Regions from separate parts of the Homo sapiens genome. Here regions 1 and 2 are each linked to region 3. The links are contacts of gene promoters, found by promoter capture Hi-C in human tissues and cell types (Jung and others, 2019). All regions are on one chromosome and are shown on one strand. Each heading gives the region's core, a stretch centred on a gene start or on the middle of the fragment in contact. The rest is flanking DNA. Distances are from core to core; before and after follow the strand shown. Region 1 holds the start of CBFB (core-binding factor subunit beta). Region 2 holds the start of CES2 (carboxylesterase 2). Region 3 holds the start of CTCF (CCCTC-binding factor).

Region 1 (3,739 bases), core at 507-3,006, 530 kb before region 3:
ATTTTTATTTATTCCACATTTCCCATGGCAGAAACAATTATTGCTAGAGTCTTTGGCCAAGATCAACTTGGAGGTCTGTGAGCCCTCCTTGGACCCATTGTGGAGCAAGAGTGCTTCCTCATGGATTTTTTTTCCCCCCGAGACGGAGTTATGCTCTTGTTCCCCAGGCTGGGGTGCAATGGCACGATCTTGGCTCACCGCAACCTCTGCCTCCCAGGTTCAACCAATTCTCCTGCCTCAGCTTCCGAGTAGCTGTTTGAGACGGAGTCTTGCTCTGTGGCCCAGGCTGCAGTGCAGTGGCACCGTCTTGGCTCACTACAACCTCCGCCTCCCAGGTTCAAGCGATTCTCCTGCCTCAGCCTCCCGAGTAGCTGAGACTACAGGCGTGTGCCACCACACCCCGCTAATTTTTGTACTTTAGTAGAGATGGGGTTTTGCCATGTTGACCAGACCGGCCTCGAGCTCCTGATCTCAGGTGATCAGCCTGCCTCGGCCTCCCAAAGTGCTGGGATTAGGCCAGGCGCAGTGGCTCATGCCTGTAATCCCAGTACTTTGGGAGGCCGAGGCGGGCAGATCACCTGAGGTCAGGAGTTCGAGACCAGCCTGACCAACATGGCGAAACCCCGTCTCTACTAAAAATACAAAAAAATTAGCTGGGCGTGGTGGTGGGTGCCTGTAATTCCAAATACTCGGGAGACAGAGGCAGAAGAATCACTTGAACCCAGGAGGCGGAGGTTGCAGTGAGCCGAGATCGCGCCATTGCACTCCAGCCTGGGCGACAGAGCGAGGCTCTGTTTAAAAAAAAAAAAAAAAAAAAAAAAAAAAGAGGGCTGGGATTACGGGTATGAGCTACAGTGCCCGGCCACAGGACTAACTTTGAATCAAACTCTGCCATAAATCCCATGTCAGACTTTCTCCAGTTTGGGCTAAACAACTTCCCTAGAATTTATGGATCTTATTTTTTGCAGCTGATTGCACATTGAGTAAGTATATGGACTGGCAATCGGTTACATTCTTAACTCAGCTTGTTCTTCTTTAGAAACTTAAATTTATTGGGCTCCCACTGTGTGCTAGACCCACATAAAGGTTCTCACGCTAACACTGCAAACCTAGGAGTGTCTGCATTTTGGAAATAAGGAAACTGAGGTTTAGTGGTCCAATTCTTATCTAAGGCCCCAGCCAGCAGGTAGTGTAGCTGAGTGGGATCCCATCTAAGACCCATCTGACTCCAAAAGCCACGACCTTTCCACCATGACTCGGTTGGATTCTTTGGTCCGTTTCCACCTCAGTCTTCAACGTGCAGAGCCTACACCCCTGCCGGTCGGTTTAGGGACGAAAAGTCCCCAAGGACTTAGGTTTCCTCGCGTTCAAGTGACAATCTGGGGTTACTCCGCGCACCTGGGGAACCCAGAAGTTCCAGATGACCGAGGAAGGGCGGTAGAAAAGGCCTGCGCTGGCTACTCCCGTCTGCTAAAGGCCAGGCGGATCCCCCAACGACAGCTCCACGCCGAGTGGCCGCGGGCGAGCAGGGGGAAAAGGGCCCTGATGCGGAAGGAGCCCCGGGGCGCCACAGCCAGGCCGCTCCGCCAGCGGGCGGGTGGCGCATGCGCGGCGTGGGCCGCGGAGTTGTGAATGGTGCGTCTTGTTTGCCGGAGTTGGAGGCGGGCGGGCGCGCGAGGAGGAGGGGTGGGGCCGGCGGGGGCGGGGTGGGCGGTGAGAGGAAGTGGCGGCGGCGGCGGCGGCGGCGGCCGGGGGCGGTGAGCGCTGGGGCTGCGCGGGCGGCAGGCAACGGCTGAGGCGGCGGCGGCGGCGGCGGCGGCGTGGGTTGGGCTCGAGCGGGCGGCGGCGCCTCAGACTCCCCGGAACGGGAGCCCACGCGGGCGGGCGCCTGAAACAAAGGGAAGCGGGCGTCCGGGCGCCGCGGGTGGGCGGTCAGTCGGTCAGCGCGGAGCCAGCCAGCGGGTGCCCGCGCAAGCCCCGAGCGCGGCCGGCCGGCGCGGCCTCAGGGCGGGAAGATGCCGCGCGTCGTGCCCGACCAGAGAAGCAAGTTCGAGAACGAGGAGTTTTTTAGGAAGCTGAGCCGCGAGTGTGAGGTGAGGCAGGCGGGCGGGCGGCTAGGAGGCCGCAGCGCGCCCCGAGTGGGCCCGGGCGGAGAAAAGTTTGGGCGGCACGGTCCCCGGGAGTCCCGGTCGGTGCGCCCGCGGAGGGGCAATCTCGCCGGGGCGGCCATCGCCCGCAGCCTCTGCTTGCCCTTATCGGCGCTGCGCTGGGAGGGCGGGCGCGCGGGCGGCGCCGCGGATTTGGCTCCTGATTTCGGGCCGTCTTGCCTTGCAGATTAAGTACACGGGCTTCAGGGACCGGCCCCACGAGGAACGCCAGGCACGCTTCCAGAACGCCTGCCGCGACGGCCGCTCGGAAATCGTAAGTCGGCTGGCCCGGGGCGCGCGCGGGTCACTTGTTGCGCGGGGCCGCGGCGGCCCAGGCCGGTTCCGGACGGCGGCGCGGCTGCTGCGGCTCCCGGAACTGAGTGGGCGCCGTCTCACTTCCTACTCGGGATTCAAAATGCGAAACCAGATGCCGCGGGCCGGTACTCGCGGGGAGACGCTTTTCCTGGGGCTCGCCGCGGTGGCGCGTGTCGGCCAACGGAGCACCGCGAGTGGAGCTCGAACCCGAGCCAGACTAAACAAGCGAAGGGCATTGTTTAGGCGGCGACACCGAAGAAGGGTTCAGGGTATTTGTAGCAAGCAAACCCCCATTCGGAAAAAGAAGTGGAGCTTCATTCAAGGTCGGCGATAGTTTGTTTCTTAGAAGGTAGATCTGTCGGTAATTCTCTGTGTCAAGCGGTCTCACTACCAGATCGCCGAGTAGAAATCTTTCCTCCAGTTATTTATTCTAATAGAGAGGGGAGGGGGGGGAAAAGGCCCTAAAAATGTCATTTTCTTAGAATGTTAAGCTTCAGGAGAATCAGAAAGAAACCATTATCCCCATGTCCTGAGTAGGGCTGCTGTTCCTAAAAACTGCACAGATGGGCAAAACCCACGGTTGATCTCGAGGTCCTTGTTTTAGGAGGCAGATTTAGTGCGTCTTCACCAGACCTTGGGTTGAAAAAAAAAATCCAAGGGTCCTAGTTCCTCTCATCTTTTTGGTTTGCCTTGTTGGAGGTGCTGATGAGGAGGGAGTGGTAGGAAGAAACCAAGAAAAGAGGTTGATTATTACTATTTTTTTGAGGTAGAGTCTTGCTCTGTTGCCCAGGCTGGAGTACAGTGGCTCGATCTCGGGTCACTGCAACCTTCGCCTCCTGGGTTCAAGCGATTTTCCTGCCTCAGCCTCCTGAGTAGCTAGGATTACAGGTGCCTGCCACCACGCCCGGCTAATTTTTGCATTTTTAGTAGAGACGGGGTTTCACCTTGTTGGCCAAGCTGGCCTCCTGACCTCAAGTGATCCGCCCTCCTCGACCTCCCAGAGTGCTGGGATTACAGGCGTGAGCCACTGCGTCTGGCCTGATTATTTTTTAAAAAGTTGAAGCACTGTCTAATGGAATGCTGTTACTCTCTGCTCGGTGACTTGGACTCACTGCATTGTTAGAGGCTTGAAGCTAGGTGCGATTTGAATTTGGGTTAACAGTAGGAAGACATTGGAAATTTACTTCTCCCACCCCCTTTATAAAACCAGTTTATTTTTATTCAGATATAATTCATATGTCATAAAATTCTCCCTTTACATCACTGAACTCAAATTT
Region 2 (3,370 bases), core at 385-2,884, 630 kb before region 3:
CAAAGATACCCTTCGGTGTTCGTGAGCATAGAGCACGCCAGCTCCTGCTGCACAGAAACCTTTCTGACTCTCTGGAACAACTCGCTCCCCTCGGAAGTGACTCACCTGAACCCGCACCTGCTCTACTACGTTCAACTCCTCTAGCGTCAGTGGATGCTCCGGGTCATTGATGGAGCGAATCAGATGTGGGAAGTGAAGGAAAAGGGACTCTGCGCCCTTGCCCACTTAGAACCCTCTGCCAGGAACGCCCTGCTGGGATGCGGCTCCACCAGCTGCTCGATATCACTGCTCCCCCCACCGCAAGCCCCCGGAACCCGCCCGCGCCCAGCAGCGGCGGATATCGAAGATCTCGCGTGCGTCGATGCTGTCGGGAACCTGCTCGTCCTCCTCGCCTGCCGTCACAGGCCGCTCCCCAGAGCGCTGGTAGATGAGGGGGTTGGCATTCTCCAGGAGGCCGCCGCCGACCCCGCCGCCGCCTACCATCGCGGAACCACCACCGCTGATCCTAGCAGGCGTGCGCTTCCGCTCCAACCCGCGCACTTCCGGAGAACGGGAAGGGGGCGTGGCGTGGCGACGGAGTCGCGCGAGGGACACGCCGCGTTGTGGGTTCTCGGCCTGAGGTGCGAGAGAAGCGGTGACCGCGGCCCTGGCTGCTCGGACCCGGGAACATGATGGTCGCTGGAGCAGAAGGCGCTGAGAAGGGACCACGGCGGCGCTGGGTCGTGCGAGCCAGTAGCGGGCTGAAACGTAGAGGCCAGAACCAGGTCTCAGGGGGCACTAAAGGCGGTCGGAGGTAATCCCCACACCGCTTCCTCCTGGAAGTCAGGCTGGCCGGGAGCTCCCGTATCCAGGACGGTTGGTCGCCTCTGGCCTGGCAGGGATCCTAGTGTCTCGGGACCTCCCGGTGACGCGCCTGCCTCCCCTGCTGCACCATAGGCCCGGGAGTACGGCGTCCCCACAGCTTGGACCGGCAGGGGCTCGTGAAATGTTTGTCAAGTGGATAAATGACCATGGCCGTGGTCTCCGCGGGAGGTGAGGAAACTGAAAGCCACCGAGGAAAAGGGGGGCGCTCCTTAAGAAGTGCCGCGGTCACGTGTACGTTTCAAAAGAATGGCGTGACTGAGTAGGGAGGGGACCGCGGAGACCCTCAGACCCTGGACTGTAAGGAGATGAGGGGCCGTGAAGGGGAACCCAGGAAACTGAGTCCTGAAAGCAAGGAGGAACTTCCAGAATGAAGGGCGCCGACACTCCTTCCTGCCTTTGCTCAAGCGGTTCCTTCACCCCGATCAAGTTCCTTCCCATTTCTCCATCTGGGGGATCCTGAACGTGCACATCCTCAGAGAAGCCCTCCTGGGGTCTCCAATTCTAGTTTATTGCCCCCTCCTATCGATCCCCCAGCGCGCTCATCGGGCCTGTGGACAAGGACAGGTTTGAAGAGAGGATTCCCTGGATCGCGGAAGGGCTGCAGGAATGGCACAGCCCCTTCCGAGGATGCCAAAGGAGCCCGGGCAAAGGAAAGTGGCCGTGCCCGGGCCTGCCTACCACTAGATCCCCACCCACCTATGACTGCTCAGTCCCGCTCTCCTACCACACCCACCTTTCCCGGCCCAAGCCAGCGCACCCCGCTGACTCCCTGCCCAGTCCAAACTCCAAGGCTGGGCAAGGCACTGATCCACTGCTGGACAGACCCGGGGCAGCCTCTGGGTGAACAGCAGCGTGTCCGCCGGCAGCGAACCGAGACCAGCGAGCCGACCATGCGGCTGCACAGACTTCGTGCGCGGCTGAGCGCGGTGGCCTGTGGGCTTCTGCTGCTTCTTGTCCGGGGCCAGGGTGAGGCTCCCTCGGAGGGGCGACAGGGACCGGGCTCAGATCTGCCAAATGCTGCGGAGGCAGAACCTGACAGTGCGGGAGGGCAGGCGCCTGGGAGGTAGGAGCTGGTGGAGATGACAGCGTGGAACTCGTGAGCCCCACGCAACGCCTCCCCGCCGCCCAAGGTGGGCTCCTAGAAGCACAGAAAGGGTCGGGCTGGGGGACACCACGGCAAGGAACCAGCGGAGTACAGGGGCCCCAGGAGCGCCGGGACATGCCAGGCCGGGTAGGCAGCCTGGGGTCGGAGTGGGTGAGGGATTGGGGTGTGGGGATTCAGTCCATTTCCCTCTTATGATTGTGGCTGTAGCGGGTGCTGCCGGCCGGTAATAACAGTAATAGCTTCTGGCAGCATCTGGCTCTCAGTGTGTGGCGTCCTTGGCCAGGGGGGATGCCCTGAGCCCTCCAAAGGGGCCTCAGACAAGGATAGTGGTCCTTGGGGAACAGAAGCCCCCAGGCGCCAAATCCTAAAGCAGATCTAAGAGGCCACAGTGGCTGGGTGCGATTGGCTCACTCCTTTAATCCCACCACTTTAGAAGGCCAAGGGAGAGTATCGCTTGTGCCCAGGAGTTGGAGGCCAGCCTGGACAACATAGTGAGACTCGGAGTGTACAAAAAATTGAAAGAAATTAGTGGGCTGTGGTGGTCTGTGACCTGTAGTCCCAGCTACTTGGGAGGCTGAGGTGGGAGATCACTTTAGTAGGGGAGGTTGAGGCTGCAGTGAGCCTTCATCCCACTACTGCACTCCAGCCTGGGTGAAAAAGCAAAAATCTGTCTCCAGAAACAAGAACCAAAGAGCTCGTGGTGTCCCTCATGCCATTTACCTCATCCTGGGCAAGGGCACAACTTGGCTTCCAGGGCAAAGGTGAAGGCTCTGTGTGCCTGCCAGGCTTCTCCAGGCCCTTATCAGAAGCTGGGGGAGTGTTTCGGCCTTTGGTCCTCTCACCCGAAACTCTCCTAAGTGTATGATCTGTCTCTTCCAACCCTTCCCCAATTTAATTTGCGCAGGTGGAGTCCATACTCCCCCCGCCCCATGGTGCACTGCTGCAGGGCTTCCTCCCGTGCCTGCCCTTGACCACATTCTAGAGTTCACCAGGAGCCCAGCAGGAAGATCTGCCTGGCCTCACAGATGGCTACCTTTTAAAATATTTTGGGCCAGGCACAGTGGCTCACACCTGTTATCCCAGCACTTTGAGAGGCAGAGATGGGAGGATCACTTGAGGCTAGGAGTTAGAGACCAGCTTGGGCAACAAGACTTGTCTCTACCAAAAAAAAAAAAAAAAAAAGTCAAGCATGGTGGCAGACAGCTGTACTCCAAGCTACTCAGGAGGCTGTGGCGGGAGGATCTCAAGCCCAGGAGGTGGAGGCTGCAGTGAGCTGTTATCATATTACTGCATTCCAGCCTGGGCAACAGATGGCGACCTTGTCTGACAAATATATATGTATACAAAATTTTGGGTTGGACCCACATTCAGAAAAAATAATTGACAAGCCATAGGAGGGTA
Region 3 (3,454 bases), core at 707-3,206:
TTTATTTATTATTATTTTTTGAGATGGAGTCCCGCTTTGTTGCCCAGGCTGGAGTGCTGTGGCCCAATCTTGGCTCTCTGCAACCTCTGCCTCCCGGGTTCAAGCAATTCTCCTGCCTCAGCCTCCCCAGTAGCTTGGATTACAGGCGCGCGATACCATGCCCAACTAATTTTTGTATTTTTAGTAGAGACCGGGTTTCACCATATTGGCCAGGCTGGTCTCGAACTCCTGACCTCAGGTGATCCACCTGCCTTGGCCTCCCAAAGTGCTAGGATAACAGGCGTGAGCCACTGCGCCCGGCCCCTACTATCTTTTAAAAGATTTCTTTCTATATCTATCCCCAAACTTATCTGGTCCCTTCACAGCAAAACCTCTCTCAAATTGCATACATGTGCTGTCTCCATTTCCTCACTTTCCTGGTGACTGTTTAACCCATTCCGGTCAGGTCCACCTCCCTGATATACTCACGTGAATCAAGCCAAGGCCATCAGTGACATTCTCCAGTGACTTGCAAGGTGACCCAATCCAATAGCCACATCTCTGGCCCAAGTTTATCACACCGCTCAGCTGATGCCTCCTACCTGAAACCTTCTCTGCCCAGGGATTCCACAACTCAGCGCTAGCTTTCATGACTTCCTAGATGCTGCCTTTCAGACTCCTTCTCCATTACCCTCCCAATATTGGAGTGCCCCAGGATTTGGCCATGGAATTTCTCTTCACTCTTTCCTCCAAGCCAAGCCAGGGGTCGTAAACTGACAGCTCATCTGTGTGGTTTAATCAGCTCATGAAGTTTAAAAACATCTGATTCAGTTGCTAACATCTAAAAACTCTGGAGATTTGACATCTTAAAAATACAGATTTTTTTATTCCTTTAGGGGAAAAAAAAAGAGTATGTTATTGGGCCAGCATTCTCACAACGGAACGGTCAGATGGATGGAGAAGAAGCTGCTCCCTAGATATTGGGTCCATTTGATATCTAAGGGAAGAGTCATATTCCCTGTAAGTACCAAAAGGCTCTCATCCCAGAGCCACCAGCACCTTGCAGTCAGTTCTTGGTCAACTTGACTGCAGGTTGGGAAGGGTCCGCAGGCGCCTCCTGGGGAGGGGTGGGACTGAAGGTCTCCGCCCACAGAGAACAGCTCTCCCGCAAAGACAAGAAATGCACGTTTCCACAGAATTACACAGCGCTAAATACAGAAACTCCTTTCAGTAAAAAGCGATTGCTATGAACGTGTTAAAGCATCAAGTCTGGTTTTCCGCCACCTCTCCGGGCTGAGGTGGCCTGGGGACACCAAGAGGAGGCCCTCCCACTCTCCTCTCGCACCCGCTTTTAGGTGGCCCTCTTCTAGGGCGGAGAGATCACCAAAAGCCGCTGAGCAAGGACAGCCCTTCCAGTCGTCGCTCGCGGGCACGGAGCTGGGAGCGCGCGGGAACCGACCGGGCCTTACTCTGGGGCGGGCAGCTGTAAGACATTCGGAGGGCGGGTCGGGCCTGGCTGGGGCGGAGACTGGGCGGGGCCGGGCCCGGGAGCCTCCTCAGCCCCACTGGCTTGCCCCGCGCGCGCTTCCTCCAGCCACCCCCACTTCCCCAACCCTGTACGGGTTCAGGGGGCCGGAGACAGCAGCTAGGGAATAAGGTCAAGCGGACTGGATCCGGCACCGCCCAGGGGCGGCGGCCTCCGCCCAGGAAGCCCCACCCAGCGGGAGCCAGGACGCCGCGGCGCCGGCAGAGCCCACGAGCGACCCGGCGAGGGCGCGTGCGGCGTGACGACGCGACTCGCGGCGCGTCCCGTGACGCCATCGCGCCCGCTTTTGAAAGTTGGCGCCCGGGGCCGCCTCCCATGCTGCCCTGCGCCAACCCCTCCCCTCACCTTTCCTCCCCCGCCCTCTACTCGCCGCCCGGCCGGTCCCCCCACCCGTCCCTTCCCTTATCAGCACCCGCGGCCCCGGCAGCGCCGACGCAGGCGCACTGCACCGCGCCGCCGCCATTTTGTGTCTGAGCCTGTGGAGCGATTAAACCGTGCGCGGAGCTGCTTCTTTGGCGGCAGCGGCGGCGGCGGTGGCCGGTGCGGACGCGCGGAGCTCGCCGGAGACGCCGGGTGGCCGGAGCCGTGGAGCGGCGGCGGAGCGGGCGCCGCGGGGGGTGTGGCGCGGAGGTAAGGGGGCCCGGGGTGGAGGAGGTTTCGCGGGCCGCCTCTAGGTGTCACGATGGGGCCGCTCCGGTCGGCGCTGGCTGCAGCCCGGCGCCAGCGCCGCCGCCGGGGGGTGTTTGTCTCCCTCTACCGTCCCTGCTGCGGCGCGGCCGCCGCCATTGCCCGTCGCCGCCGTGGCCCGGCCGCCCCCCCCACCCCCACGCCCGCCCGCCCGCCCGCCCGCTAGGCCTCCCTCCTGGCAGCGCGCTAGGCCTCGGGCGGCGGCAGAGGCAGAGGCCCGCGCGCCCGGCGACTCCATTTTCCTTCCTTTGTCTGCCCTCGAGGCCGGTTCTTGGCCGGCCGATCGCCCGGCCGCGGCCCGCCCTCTGTCCTGTGTCCTCCGCCCCTCCCGCGGCGGGTGGCCCCAGCTGAGACACTATCTCCGCGTCCCGGCTTCGGCGCCCGCCTAGCTTAAGGGTTCGGACCGACTGCCGCCGCGCGCTAAGCCAGGTCCCGGTGCCGTATGGGTGTCGGGCCCTGGCCGTCGCGTCTCGGGCTGCCCCTCCTCCAGCCAGCCCCGTCCCCGGAACCTACCCTGCCGGCCTGCGTGCCTTCCCAGCTGCTTGGCTGCTCGGCGGTCGCTCCCAGTCCGCGCGTCGCCGCCGCTGGTCTCCGTCTCCGCCGAGTGGCGCAGGCGGCGCTGCAGCGGCTGCGAGCAGAGGGACCCCAGAGCTGCCGAGAGCTCCCTCTGCAAGGCTGGCTGAGCTGCTCGCACCTCTACGCTGCCTGAGCGGGCGGGGGGACGCGCGCTCGCCGCCCCCGCTGCGCCCCCAAACTCGCGCCCGGGTTCCTGGCCGGACCCGACCGGTGCGGCCCCCCCACGGTGGGCGGAAAAGATGCGAGTTCCGCACCAAGTAGTTTTTATCCAGCCGGGTTCGGACTCCCCAGCCGAGTGATAGCAGCCTGACTTTGTGCGCTCAGAGATCTCAAAGGGACTGAAACTTAAATTTCATTCTGATCTCAAGTGACGTGACAAATTTCTGAATTTGGGAGTATGGGCTAAGTCCCTTGAGTTTCCCTCCCGCTTTAAAATGTCCTCACACTAACTTAGTACCTGATGCTCTAGGGCTAGGTGAAGGCGGTTCTGCCCCAGGATTGTGCAACTCGATCTAGAGCGCCAGTAGGGCAGAATGAGTTTATTCTTGACTCGACTGGTAATTTGCCCATGCGATGAAATATGAGGGTTGATGTTGTAATTGAATCCTGGGTCACTTGCTGCAGATGGTTTATAAATATCTACGCCTAATGTAACTACTGTTTAGT

What was found. The method cuts DNA at HindIII sites, captures the fragments that hold promoters and counts their contacts. A contact is called where the count stands out against the background at its distance.
Region 1: a contact is called between the fragment with the promoter of CBFB here and the fragment with the promoter of CTCF in region 3, in 1 of the 25 tissues and cell types used here (adrenal gland).
Region 2: the fragment with the promoter of CES2 here is called in contact with the fragment with the promoter of CTCF in region 3 in 1 of the 25 tissues and cell types used here (adrenal gland).

The regions. Positions count from the first base shown.
Region 1 is chr16:67,027,393-67,031,131 of GRCh38, forward strand. CBFB (core-binding factor subunit beta) reads left to right here and starts at 1,757. Exons shown (of 6, transcript NM_022845.3): 1 at 1,757-2,093; 2 at 2,335-2,421. The coding sequence starts at 2,016. RefSeq lists an enhancer at 1,020-1,159 and silencers at 1,720-1,909, 2,000-2,239, 2,490-2,539. The HindIII fragment of the contact is 10,821 bases long and covers 1-3,363 here.
Region 2 is chr16:66,933,882-66,937,251 of GRCh38, forward strand. CES2 (carboxylesterase 2) reads left to right here and starts at 1,635. Exons shown (of 12, transcript NM_001365405.1): 1 at 1,635-1,830. The coding sequence starts at 1,755. It overlaps CIAO2B (cytosolic iron-sulfur assembly component 2B), which reads right to left and starts at 521. Exons shown (of 5, transcript NM_016062.4): 1 at 342-521; 2 at 106-185. The coding sequence starts at 483. RefSeq lists enhancers at 127-176, 207-406, 1,245-1,857. The HindIII fragment of the contact is 13,939 bases long and covers 1-3,370 here.
Region 3 is chr16:67,560,570-67,564,023 of GRCh38, forward strand. CTCF (CCCTC-binding factor) reads left to right here and starts at 1,957. Exons shown (of 12, transcript NM_006565.4): 1 at 1,957-2,155. It overlaps CTCF-DT (CTCF divergent transcript), which reads right to left and starts at 1,740. Exons shown (of 1, transcript NR_158165.1): 1 at 842-1,740. It overlaps LOC124903703 (a long non-coding RNA gene), which reads right to left and starts at 2,881. Exons shown (of 2, transcript XR_007065094.1): 1 at 2,726-2,881. RefSeq lists enhancers at 1,049-1,098, 1,119-1,168, 2,313-3,175 and silencers at 1,399-2,408, 2,929-3,028. The HindIII fragment of the contact is 9,573 bases long and covers 1-3,454 here.